2 separate regions of the Homo sapiens genome follow, and region 2 is linked to region 1. Evidence: promoter capture Hi-C in 16 types of primary human blood cells and fetal thymus (Javierre and others, 2016). All regions are on one chromosome and are shown on one strand. Each heading gives the region's core, a stretch centred on a gene start or on the middle of the fragment in contact. The rest is flanking DNA. Distances are from core to core; before and after follow the strand shown.

Region 1 (6,793 bases), core at 850-3,349:
CCACGTTTTCTTTGTGTGCCAGGTGATTAGTTATCAAAGCACGCTTATTATTAGCGCACACACACATACATGCACACACACAATGTAAATGAAGCGGACAGGTTTTGTTTCATTCTAAATATCTTTCTTTCTTACCTAAATGAAAAAGCCTGTTATCAACTCTACCAGTATTTTAGGTTTCCTCTAACCTGTAGTTATATTTGTAATGAGTTGAAAATAGTTAACTACTTCCATTCTTTTTTTTTTTTTTTTTTTTTTTTTTTTTTTTTTTTGAGACGGAGTCTTGCTCTGTCGCCCAGGCTGGAGTACAGTGGCGGGATCTCGGCTCACTGCAAGCTCCGCTTCCTGGGTTCACCCCATTCTCCTGCCTCAGCCTCCCGAGCAGCCGGGACTACAGGCGCCCGCTACCACGCCCGGCTAATTTTTTTGTATTTTTAGTAGAGACGGGGTTTCACCGCGTTAGCCAGGATGGTCTCGATCCTGACCTCCTGATCCGCCTGCCTCGGCCTCCCAAAGTGCTGGGATTATAGGCGTGAGCCACCGCGCCCGGCAGGTAACATTCTTTAGTTCTTTCAATCTTGCCTATGATTTAAAGAAGTGCATTCCAGTCTGCTTGCATGGTGCTTTGCTATTTCTAATACTCATTTCATGCCAAACTCTCCAACATGCTTCTACAAATCTTTTGGTGTCATTAGCTCAAAACGTAAATGGATTTTGGTTATTTTCAATGTCATAATTATAAATTTAGCTTTTTTAAGCGTGAAAAAAGCACTTTATAGGAATATATTTTACCACTTTTCCATTTGTGGGAGGTATAATTCATTATTTCTTGCTTTGGTAAGAAAAGTGAGGAAAAAGGAAAATTCATCCATTTGCAGGCTGTTTAAACTTCCAGACAGATTATAATTCATCACTCCAAACAATAAGATGGCTATTACATTTCTCCATAATTTTTATTTGCTAATAAAACGGAGGCAGAGCTTTTTTCTAAAAATAAATAAATAAACAACAACAACAACAACCTCCCCCACCCCGCACCTTCTGTGCAAATTCCTATAAAGTCTTTTATCCTGTCGCTGAGTCTGAGGGCACCCCCCCTCCCGTACTCGTCAGCTCCATCTCGCGGAGGAAAACGCTACCGGCACCCTCAGCTCCGCCCAAGGGCCGCGATCTCTACAGGGGAGATGAAAAGCCGGCGACACTACACAGGCGTGGACCCTCCAACGAGTGTTCCTTTCCTGTGGGTTAAGAGTAGGAGCGTCTGGGCAAAAGCTGGGAGCTTTCAGTTGCCAGGACCCTTGGGAAAGCACGTATTTAGATTTCATTGATAAATTCAACTGAATCCCGAGAAAAATTATACTCCATTCACTGGCATATTTAGAACGGAATTCCCATTGACCCGAGGCTCCCGGTTGAACCCTTCAAGGGAGCCAAGCGAGGACGTTCTCAGAACAGCAGTGCACCGTGTACATTGTGGGAGCCCCGCGCGATCCCCCGCAGAGCGTCCTGTAGGAACGTCACAGAGCCCAGAGAGCGTCCTGTAGGAACGTCACAGAGCCCAGAGAGCGTCCTGTAGGAACGTCACAGAGCCCAGAGAGCGTCCTGTAGGAACGTCACAGAGCCCAGAGAACGCCTGGGGACGGTCGGGGAGGCAGTTCGGGGAGGGGACGATTAAGTTCCCTCAGAGAGGAAGCCGCGGGCCGACTGGAGTCGTTTTCGTGCTCTCCGCACCCGCCCGCCGCGGGTAGCATCTTCTCAGCGCCCCGGCGCCCAGGAACGCCCAGGAAACCCAGTCCTCCTCCTAAGCAACCTGCGGCGCGGGGACGCCCGCCTTTTGCTATTATTATAAACGTGCGTGCGACTAAACCTTCGGATTTTTAGACTTTCTTCTCGCTTCCTCTGACCCAGGCTGAGGGAGCCCCCGAGGCTACTGCGGGGCGGGGCCGGGGCGGGGTGGGGCGCCCTCGCCGCCTCAGGCAGCGCCCCGGCCGCTGGCGGGAGGCGGCAGCGGCGCGGGCCGAGCGGCGCGGGGATTGGCTGCGGCGGGCGGAGACGTCAGGCTCCCGCGGCCCAAGCGGCCGCCCGGCGCGGCGCGGCGCAGTCGGCTCGAGTACTCCCCGTAACGAGGAGGTGTTCTCGGCCGTCCCACCCTTCACTGCCGTCTCCGGGCTGCGCCGCCGGAGCCGGGACGCGCCTCCGCAGCCCTCGCCGCCTCCATCCCCGCGGCCGCAGCTCCTCTCGCCGTCCGCGCGCACACCATGACGAAGAACGAGAAGAAGTCCCTCAACCAGAGCCTGGCCGAGTGGAAGCTCTTCATCTACAACCCGACCACCGGAGAATTCCTGGGGCGCACCGCCAAGAGCTGGGGTGAGCGGGCAGCAGCTGGGCGTCCGGGGCCGGCCTCGGTCCCGGGGGCGCCGGGCGCGGTCTGGTGGGAACGGAAAGGCGGGAGGCGGCTCCCAGCGCCGGGGCTCCCGACCGCCCGACCCTAACCCGGGCGGCGGCGGCGCAGTGCGGCCCCATTCATTGCTCCCCGGGCCGGCCGGACTGGCCGCAGCTCGCTCCCGAAGCAGCGGGGCCCGCGGGCAGCCCGGCCGGGCCGCGCTGGTTCCTCCCTCCCTGCTGGGAGCGGGGCGCACGTGCTGCCCGGGCCTCCCGCCCGGCGCGGCGCCGGAAGCCGGGGACCCCTGCCCGAAGCCGGGCCCCGAGAGTGCAGGAGCCGAGCCCCCGGGCCTCCTTTGTACGGAGCGCTCCGGCCCGAGAGGCCCTGGCGGAGGCGCCCGGCCCGCTGAGCGGTTCGGAGAAGCCAGACCCTGCCCCACTCCAGGGGAGAGGAAATTTCCACTCCCGCCGCTATCTTGTGACTCGTCCACGCTGCCACCCCGACCGGTCGGAAGAGTGCGACTGAGTGTTAAGTGTGGGTGTGGGTTGCTTAAACGTGTAGCGGTGAGTTAATCACAGAAGTACATTGTACAAGAAAATGCACTTGAATTTGGACAGTGAAAAGGCCCTTAAAAAGGTTGGTTCCTCCCGGATTCCTTTTTAATTACAGAGGTTTTCTTCCTTACAAATTTGCTTCTTTGGGGAAAGTAAATCCTGTCTGAACAACACAGGTTTTTTTTTTTTTTCCCGTGTCTTCAAAACAGGAGAGTGATGGTTGTATGTTAGCAGATTTTTTCTATGCGTGAGCTCTTTGTTTTAATATATTTAAACCATCTACCGTGTAGAGTAGCTTTAGGATGCCTTTTTTTCCTAAAATTGTATCAATCTCTGAATGCAGGCTAGAGCTTTTTTTTTTTTTTGCCTTTATACTTAAGTAAACTAATTTTACCTTTTTAAATCCTTTTGAAACATTTTGTTAGTGGGTCTTGAAAGACCATTTCTTTCTGAGTGGGAATAAATCTCGAGAGCTTAGAACTATTTGGGCACAACATTTTTAGGATAAGCATGGAGAAATAAGCTGTGACTCAGAAAATAAACTGTTGGTGCAGACTGAAATGGACTCCTTCAGGGTGAAAAGGCGACTTGAAGTCTTATCACAAGCTGAAAGGGGCCTTGGAGGATTTTTAGCCCAACCCCCACTTTAGAGATGAGAAAAATGAGACCCAGAGAGGTTGTGATTTTTGCCTTGTGTAAAATTACATATGCCACAAAGCCAAGAAAAGAACCCAGTTCTCCTTTAATCCTAGTCCAGCGGTTGTATTATTTTACAGATGCCTTGCCTAACTGCATGGTAATCACTCATGATTTTTATTTAAATTGCTGTTTTCTTTTGGGAACCCACTAGTGTGATGAAGAAATAAATCTTGCATCCAGACTTACATGGGAACAAAAGATGAACATTTATAAAGCTTAATTGCTTGTTTCTAGAGTGTACTAACTTTTTGCTGAAGAAATTTTTGAGTGGTGGAGAGAGATTAATTTTGATAGGCTACCTTCCTCCCTTTCTCCCTTCCCCAGTGCTTCCTCATTTCCAGAACGGAGTAACTCCACTTTGTGTTAGAATGACATTTCTTACTGCAGATAGTGCTCTTCAACCTTTGTATTGTATGACCTAGGGTAGAGATTTTATTTTATTGAGTCAATGCATTTAAATAGATAACATGCACAAATAAATAGAGAGCAATGTGTAAGGACTGTAAAACTAGTACAAGTGAAGTTGGGATTCATTTTGGAAGGATTAAGTCAATCTCTTCAAAATCGATAAGTATTACTCTTATCAGTAAATTTTTTGTTTATTGTAATAATAGTAAGTCAGTGAAGAATGGCATATATAGGTGAAAATTAACCATAATCCTGTCCCAATGTAAGGGTATCCCTCTAAGGATATGTGAGGGAGTCGTGAGAGGAGGCCGAAATCCATATTCAGCTTGCCAGGCTGTGTATCCTAGACCATGGTTGGGTCTGCCTAGAGAAGGGGCACCTTGTTCTAATTCTTGCAAAGGCAGGATCAGTTTGGAGAGCTCTGTGCCTCTGGGGATATGTCTGCCAGGAAGGATTCTTTTTTTAATTCTCTTGAAGGGACTGTATGGGCTTGCTGCCAGATGTCATCATACCTCAGAGATACTATTAACATTCTGGTATATATGTTACTGAATTGTGTATAACATTTTTTTTAAAACAAAAGGATCATAAAGTGTTGTTTTATATTCTGAGTATATTGTGGGCATCTTTCCATGTTACTAAAGATTTTTAGACAGGTTTCCCTATATTCACCCTTTTCATGTACATTTTTGCACATTTATTTCCTTGGTATATATTTATACCGATGGGATTTCTAGGCCATTCATATGTACTTTTTACATTTTGAAAACTTGTTTTCATGTGCTTTCCAGGAAGTTTCTAACAATTTATACTCCCAACGGTATGTAGTGGTGTCTCATACCTTCATCAGCACTGAGGCTATTTTTACCTGTGTTATCTCTTTTAAAACCTTACATTTTTGGGGCCGGGCGCGGTGGCTCACACCTGTAATCCCAGCACTTTGGGAGGCTGAGGTGGGTGGATCACTTGAGGGCAGGAGTTCAAGACCAGCCTGGCCAACATGGTGAAACCCTGTCTCTACTAAAAATGAAAAAAAAAAAAATTAGCCGGGTGTGGTGGCACCTGCCTGTAATCACAGCTACTTGGGAGGCTGAGGCAGGAGAATTGCATGAACCCAGGAGGTGGAGGTTGCAGTGAGCTGAGATCGCACCACTGCACTCCAGCCTGGGCGACAAAGCAAGTCTCCATCTCAAAAAAAAAAACCTTACAGTTTTTGGTAACAGCTTTTTTTTTTTTTTTTTTTTTTTTAAGAAAAACAGCCTTTTGTCATTTTGCAAATTTTTTTTCTAGTTGTCTTTTTGACTTTTTTTAATCAAATTTTATGTAGGTGGTGGGAGAAAAAGATTATGTATTTGTTGTAGGGGGTGGAAGGAAAAAAAATCACATCTTTTTTGACCTTGTAAAGTTGCTAGGACTCCTGGTGTGTCTACCCCCAGGATTTTATCATTCATTTAAGATGTTTCCTGGTTTTATTTTTACACATTTAAGTCTTTAGTATGTTTGTCTCATTTTGATCTAAGGTTCCTCTCCAAGTGCATTGGATACATTAAAAAGCACACATATTTAAAAGGTAGTTTTGCTATTTACATTTTGGATAAAGTGAAAATGTTGCAAGTTACATTGCATTGCCTTATTTAAAACAGCTACGTAAAGATTTTGAGTGGCCGCTTTACTGTGTATTTGGCTAATATCTTACAGGTGGTTACAGCAGTTTCAAAATGCTTATATACACATAAGTTACTTCATGTGATTTTCACAGTAACGTAAAGCCAACTAGTTGGGTGATCCAAGTGTACTTAGCACTGGTTTTCAAGCTGAAAAGTAAGTATAAGTCAGCAATAAATAGTTGCCATTTATGAATACACAGGACAAAGAAAATTGAGCACCTAGTGGCTGATGTTTGCAAAATATTAAATAACTTAAGTTCATTGAATACAATTAGAGTCAAATTAATGAAGCTTAGAGATCTAGTGTTATTTAAACTACTAGTAGTGGGCCAAGTGTTGCCATTAACATTTTTTTAATGATGAAATAGAATAGTAAAAATATGTTTATTTTACCTAATAGGTTCATTCTAGCTTTAAAAAAAGTGTTGTTTCATGAAGCTTTTGTGTATTTTGCATATATAGATACCCCAGTGTAAACTGTATTTGTTACTTTGGCTCATAGTCCAAAAACTCTTGAAAGCCACTAATCTAGCCCAGTGCCTTCATTTCATAGGTGGCAAAATTAAACCTATGGGTCATCTGATTTGCCAAAATTCACTCAGGGAGTTAGTGATAAAATCCTTGGGGCTTCAGACTCCAAGGCCAGAGATTTTTTAAAAAACAAACCAGGCGGGACATGGTGGCTCATGCCTGTAATCCCAGCACTTTGGGAGACTGAGGCGGGCGGATCACCTGAAGTCAGAGTTCGAGACCAGCCTGGCCAACATGGCGAAATCCGTCTTTACTTAAAGTACAAAAATTAGCCCGGCATGGTGGCGGGTGCCTGTAATCCCAACTACTCTGGAGGCTGAGGCAGGAGAATTGCTTGAACCCGGGAGGTGGAGGTTACAGTGAGCCAAGATCGCGCCACTGCACTCCAGCCTGAGCGACAAGCTCAGGACTCCACCTCCAAAAAAAAAAAAAAGAAAAGAAAAACCAACTATGCCATGATGTGTTGTCATTTAATAACATCTACTTGTGAGCTTCTTTGGGGTTCATTATCTTTATTAAGGTGGTCTGTCAGTAAATGCTTTGTATTAATA
Region 2 (6,298 bases), core at 3,360-5,859, 110 kb before region 1:
ATGGAGTCTCACTCTGTCGTCCAGGCTGGAGTGCAGTGGCGCGATCTCAGCTCACAGCAAGCTCTGCCTCACGGGTTCACGCCATTCTCCTGCCTCAGCCTCCCGAGTAGCTGGGACTACAGGCACCCGCCACCACGCCCAGCTAGTTTTTTGTATTTTTAGTAGAGATAGGGTTTCACCGTGTTAGCCAGGATGGTCTCGATCTCCTGACCTCGTGATCCACCCGCCTCGGCCTCCCAAAGTGTTGGGATTACAGGCGTGAGCCAACGCACCTAGCCAGTTTTTTCTTATAACTTCCTTATTCTCTCCACTCTCGATTACTTTTATTCGCCACCAAATGTGAAAAAAAAAAGTCTTTAAAGCAGACTCACCGAAATTTCTAATAAATACTTACTACTTCTTCATTCCAGAATACAAAGTCTTTTATGTCCTACTAAAAATAACTTTGACTTTTATGCCCTTGTTTCATTCATTATTATAACCGTAACACTTTTTTTCAAATAATTCCCACATATTCGCCACATATCAAATCTATGTTTTGTGGAATTTCTTTTGCTTTTTGTTTGCTAACATTGTATTGTTTGGTCTTCTCTAATAATCTATGTCTTCTAATAAAATCTCGTACTTTCCAGAGAGTTGCTTAGCAGATTTTTAAAATCTTATTGTGTGAACACATACAGTTCATTTGCATATCTGCCATAATTCATTTCCAAATGGAATCTCTATCAGGAAGTATTTTCTATTTCCTTCAGATATACCAATTACTTCATTTTCTCTCTTAGCTACTGTGACTCCTTGTTTAAGAAGAATATCCTCTGTTATGAGAATGCAGTCATTATTAAAACAATTAGAGTCTTGTTTAGAGAGGAAGATGTTTATGTTATGCCAGATTATAGCCTAAGATTCAATATTTATGGACTTAATTTATTATAGAAATGAGGAGTTTTAAGCAAGCATACAGATTCTTTCACCCCTATGAAAGCATGTGCAACTTCTCCTATCTTAAGTAGCCTCAAAAGCAAAAATTTTCACCATCTATTCTTGGTATGACATGTAAGGAAGGTCAGGCTTCCTGTTGATAAAAAGATTTCTCTTTCAGATACACAATGATTGTTTCATTATCAATTGGAACAGAGCTGAACTGAATGCTTGGTTTTATACTATGATACCATGCAAGCCTTATAACTAAAAATCTGTTGGTTTTGTGTTTTGTTTTTTGTTTTTTTTTTTTGAGACAGGGTCTCCTTCGCACTGTCACCCAGGCTGGAGTGCAGTAGCGTGATCTCAGCTCACTCCAGCCTCCAGCCCCCAGCTCAACCAATCCTCCTACCTCAGCCTCCTGATTAGCTGGGACTATAGGCATGTGCCACCATGCCCAGATTTTTTTTGTATTTTTAGTAGAGACGGGGTTTTGCTGTGTTGCCCAGACTAGTCTCAAACTCCTGACCTCAGGCGATCCATCCACCTTGGCCTCCCAAAGTACTGGGATTACAGGCGTGAGCCACCATGCCCAGCAGAAAAGTCTGCTATTTTAAAGGGAAACAGAGGACAAGAATCATTTGTAAATATCTCAGCTTTCTCCTTTGTGTGTCACACTAGATTCTTTTACCCCCAAGCTTCTCTATGCCACAGGGACAATGCTAAGTGAAAAGTACCCTGGAATGGACTATGAGACCCTAAGTTCCTAGTCTAAACCCAGCATTTAAGTTTTTTCTGGTCTGTTTTCTTCATGTACAGGAAGAGCTTAGACTAGGTACACACTATGATAACATGCATTCTATTTAACTCTGTGATTATTGGATAATTGGAGTTAATAGGAAAGTGAGTGGTTTTCAACTGACATTTCCTGAAAGTTAGAAAATGAATTGTTCATTCCTCTATGTTCCCCTTGGATTTGGTGCCTACCTGTGGAGCGGCCTCTAACCACACTGTGTCACGGTTATCATGGTAAATGGGGCCACCACACATAGACCCCTTGCAACAGACCCACACTCCTGTGCTGTCTGGAGAGCTGCCCTTCGTCCTAAGGCCAATCCTTCCCCTTATATTTTAACCTCGCCCTCTAACCTGGATCCTTCCTGTCAGCCTTTTTTTTTTTTTTTTGAGACGGAGTCTCGCTCTCTTCCCCAGGAGTGCAGTGGTGCAATCTTGGCTCACTGCAGACTCCGCCTCAGCCTCCGCCTCCCGGGTTCCAGTGATTCTCCAGCCTCAGCCTCCCAGGTAGCTGGGATTACAGGCACCCACCACCACACCTGGCTAATTTTTTTGTATTTTTAGTAGAGATGGGGTTTCACCATGTTGGCCGGGCTGGTCTCGAACTCCTGACCTCAGGTGATCCACCCGCCTTGGCCTCCCAAAATGCTAGGATTACAGGCATGAGCCACCGCCCCTGGTCCTTGTTAGCTTTTAACAAGCACAAGACACTACCATTAATTTTTTCTCCCATCTCTCGCAACCCCTCCAGCTCCCCATCATATGTCTCTCCCTTTTCATGGCCAAAGTTCTGTGGCTGCAACCTTCACTTCTCCACCTTCCTTCCCTCCTCAATCCTCTCCAGTCAGGCTGAGAGTCCTACTCCAGGAGCCAGTGGTTTCCATCCATCCTCCTTTCTTTCTCCTCATCATCTCAGCCTCTCAGCAGCATTCGATGCAGTTGGCCACTCTCTACTTGGCTTTTGCGGCACCACACTTTCCTGCTTCTCTCCAGCTTCCCTTCTCATTCCTTCTCAGCCTCCCTTACAGGCTCATCCTCTGAATGATAAATGTTGAATGACCTCAAGGCTCAGTCCTTGTCCATCTTCCAGTCTCACTCCCTTCTCTCTCCCCAGGTGGGTTCTTCAATGCCTACATCAATTATCACCTACTCCCCTATGACTCCCAAACATGCCTTTCCCTCCAGACCTCTCCTCTGAACTCCAGACCCTTCTATCCCACTGCCCACCTAACATCACCACTGGGACATCTCCCAGGCACCCCAAATTCTGCATGTTCCAAACTGAACACCTTCTTCCAGGTTTTCCCTGTCTTGGTGAATGACATAACCATCCTCCAGCTCTCCTAAGCCTGGATTCACCCCTTCATCTCCTTCTACCTCACCCTCCATAATCATCAACTCCTGACTATTTTGCCTTCTGAATAGCTTAAGATTCCTTCTGCTTTGTTCCATCTTGACAGCCAGCATCATGACTCACTAGGCTGCTGCAGTAACCTCTCATCTGGGCTTTCTGCACCCACTCTATTCATAAAGCAGCAGCCAGCGGTGTCTTTGAAACACAAATATATCCACATCGTATGGCTAAACACTCTAGTGGTCTCCCATTGTTCCTAAGAGAGAGGTCAAATCCTTAAAAGGATGGCTTAACTGATAATGGTACAGGAGTTGGTCATCATCCTGTTTGTTCTCAGACACTTTCTCTGACTTTGGCCTTCTCTGATCTGTATCTGCAGGGACTCACCCCATGCAAGCTCTGCAAGTGACATTTCCCAGCCTCCCTTGCCCTCTGGCTTCTGGCCAGGCTCTGCTAATGAGGAAAGACACCAGGGCATCTCTCCCCATCTCACTCGGCCTCGTGTGTGACCTCTGGGAGTGGCTGCATCTCCGATCTTTCAGCTCCCACGTGACAGCCTCTCCTGCAGTCCCAGCTCCTACCAGACAGCCCCTGTATTACTCTCCTGTGGCTGCCATAATGAATTATCACAAAGTATTTTTGAAAAACCAACAAGGTTTTGTTTGTTTGTTTGTTTGTTTTGAGACAGAGCCTTGCCCTGTCGCCCAGGCTGGAGTGCAGTGGCGCAATCTCGGCCCACTGCAACCTCTGCCTCCTGGGTTCAAGCCATTCTCCTGCCTCAGCCTCCCAAGTAGCTGGGATTACAACCGCCCGCTACCATGCCCAGCTAATTTTTGTATTTTTAGTAAAGACGGGGTTTCACCACGTTGGCCAGGCTGATCTCAAGTGATCTGCCTGCCTTGGCCTCCCAAAGTGCTGGAATTACAGCGTGGTTAAAGGCTGTTCTAGAGGTAGGTATCAAATCCAAGGGGCACATAGAGGAGGGAACAATTCATTTTCCAGCTTTCAGGAAATATCAGTTGAAAACCACTCACTTTCCTATTAACTCCAATTATCCAATAATCACAGAGTTTATAAAATGTGTGTTACCTTAGTGTTTACCTAATCTAAACTATGACTGTACATGAAGGAAACAGACCAGAAAAAAAGTAAGTGCTAGATTTCAACTAGGAGCCACCTAGTGAGCCACTACACCTGGCCAACAAGGTATTTTTGATTACTTCAAATTATTAAAAGTGGGGCCAGCTGTTGCTGGGAGGGTAAAGACCCTTTTGCTATACTTTCCAGTAGAGGGCTTTTACTGAAAGAAAAAAGAAAAAAAAAAAAGACACCTTTGCTGTGGAAGGATTCAAATCAGACGTTGCCAAAAGAAGACATATAAATGGCCAACAAGCATATAAAAAATACTCATCACCACTAATGATCAGAGAAATGCAGATTACAGAATGAGATACCACCTCACACCAGTCAGAACAGCTACTGTTAAAAAGTCAAAAAACAACAAACGTTGGTGAGGATGTTGAGAAAGGGAATGCTTATACACTTTTGAGGAGAATGTAAATTAGTACAAACTATATGGAAAACAGTATGGAGACCAGGCATGGTGCTCACACCTGTAATCTCAGCACTTTGGGAGGCTGAGGTGGGAGGATCACTTGAAACCAAAGGGGTCAAGGCTGGCTGCACTAAGCCGTGATCACACCACTGCACTCCGGCCTGGGTGACTGAGTGATACCCAGTCTCAAAAAAAAAAAAAAAAAAAAAAGTCAAAACCAGTATGGAGAACTGCCATTTGGTCCAGCAATCCCACTATTGGGTATCTCCTCAAAGGAAATCATTATATTAAAAAGATAACTGCACACATATGTTTATCACAGCACTATTCACAATAGCAAAGATATGGAATCAACCTAAGTATTCACCAATGGGTGACTGGGTAAAGAAAATGTATGTGTGTGTGCACGTGTGTGTGTGTGTGTGTACACATATCCATACATGGAATACTACTCAGCCATAAAAAAGAATGGAATCATGTCTTTTTCATCAATGTGGATGGAACTGGAGGCCATTATTATCTAAGTGAAACATCTCAGAAAGAGAAAGTCAAATACAGCATGTACTCTCTCAATAATCAGTAACTAAATAATGTGTACATATGTACTTAGAGAGTAGAATAATAAACACTAAAGTCTAGGAAGGATGGGAGGGTAAGAAGGTGGGAGCAGGGGTAAGGGATAAGAAATTACTTAGAGAGTAGAATAATAAACACTAAAGTCTGGGAAGGATGGGAGGGTAAGAAGGTGGGAGCAGGGGTAAGGGATAACAAATTACTTAATGTGTACAATGTACATTATTCAAGTGATGGCTACACTAAACGCCTAGACTTCATCATTATGTAATATAGCCATATAACAAAACTGTGCTTGTACCTCCCAAATCTATTTTTTTTTTGAGACTGAGTGTTGCTTTGTCACCCAGGCTGGAGAGCAGTGGCGCAATCTAGGCTCACTGTAACCTCTGCCTCCTGGGTTCAAGCAATTCTTCTGTCTCAGCCTCCCAAGTAGCTGGGATTACAGGCACCCACCACCATGCCCGGCTAATTTTTGTATTTTTAGTAGACACAGGGTTTCACCATATTGGTCAGGCTGGTCTCAAACTCCTGACCTCAGGTGATCCACCCGTCTCAGCCTCCCAAAAGTGCTGGGATTACAGGTGTGAGCCACTGCACCCAACCCGTAAATCTATTTTTAAACAACAACAACAACAAAAGTTGTTGAACAATCAACAACTTGAAGCTAAAGAACAACCTGGGTTCTTTGGGTATTTTGTTTTATTTTATTTAATTAATTAATTTATTTTTCCTGAGACAGAATCTTGCTGTCACCCAGGGTAGAGTGCAGTGGGACTATCTCAGCTCACTGCAACCTCCACCTCCCAGGTTCAAGCAATTCTCCTGCCTCAGCCTCCCAAGTATCTGGGATTACAGGCATGCGCCACCATGCGCGGCTAATTTTTGTATTTTTAGTAGAGATGAGGTTTCACCATATTGGCCAGGCTGGTCTCAAACTCCTGACCTCATGATCCGCCCACCTTAGCCTCCCAAAGTGCTGGGATTACAGGCGTGAGCCACTGTGTCCGGCCTTTTTGGGTATTTTAATGCTAATGTATTAGTCTGCTTCAGAACTTACACTGCTCAAAATAGCTTCTCTGTGTTTCTAAGACCATATAGCA

What was found. The method cuts DNA at HindIII sites, captures the fragments that hold promoters and counts their contacts. A CHiCAGO score of 5 or more calls a contact.
Region 2: a fragment that was not itself captured here is called in contact with the fragment with the promoter of ATP1B3 in region 1 in 1 of 17 cell types (endothelial precursors); the score reaches 5.8 in endothelial precursors.

What each region holds. Positions count from the first base shown.
Region 1 is chr3:141,874,544-141,881,336 of GRCh38, forward strand. It overlaps ATP1B3 (ATPase Na+/K+ transporting subunit beta 3), which reads left to right and starts at 2,100. Exons shown (of 7, transcript NM_001679.4): 1 at 2,100-2,367. The coding sequence starts at 2,259. RefSeq lists silencers at 995-1,054, 1,925-2,054, 2,325-2,894. The HindIII fragment of the contact is 6,749 bases long and covers 1-3,849 here.
Region 2 is chr3:141,766,185-141,772,482 of GRCh38, forward strand. All of the region lies in intron 1 of GRK7 (G protein-coupled receptor kinase 7), which reads left to right. Among named protein-coding and RNA genes, the nearest start is that of GRK7, 5.9 kb to the left of the region's middle. The HindIII fragment of the contact is 5,990 bases long and covers 1,615-6,298 here.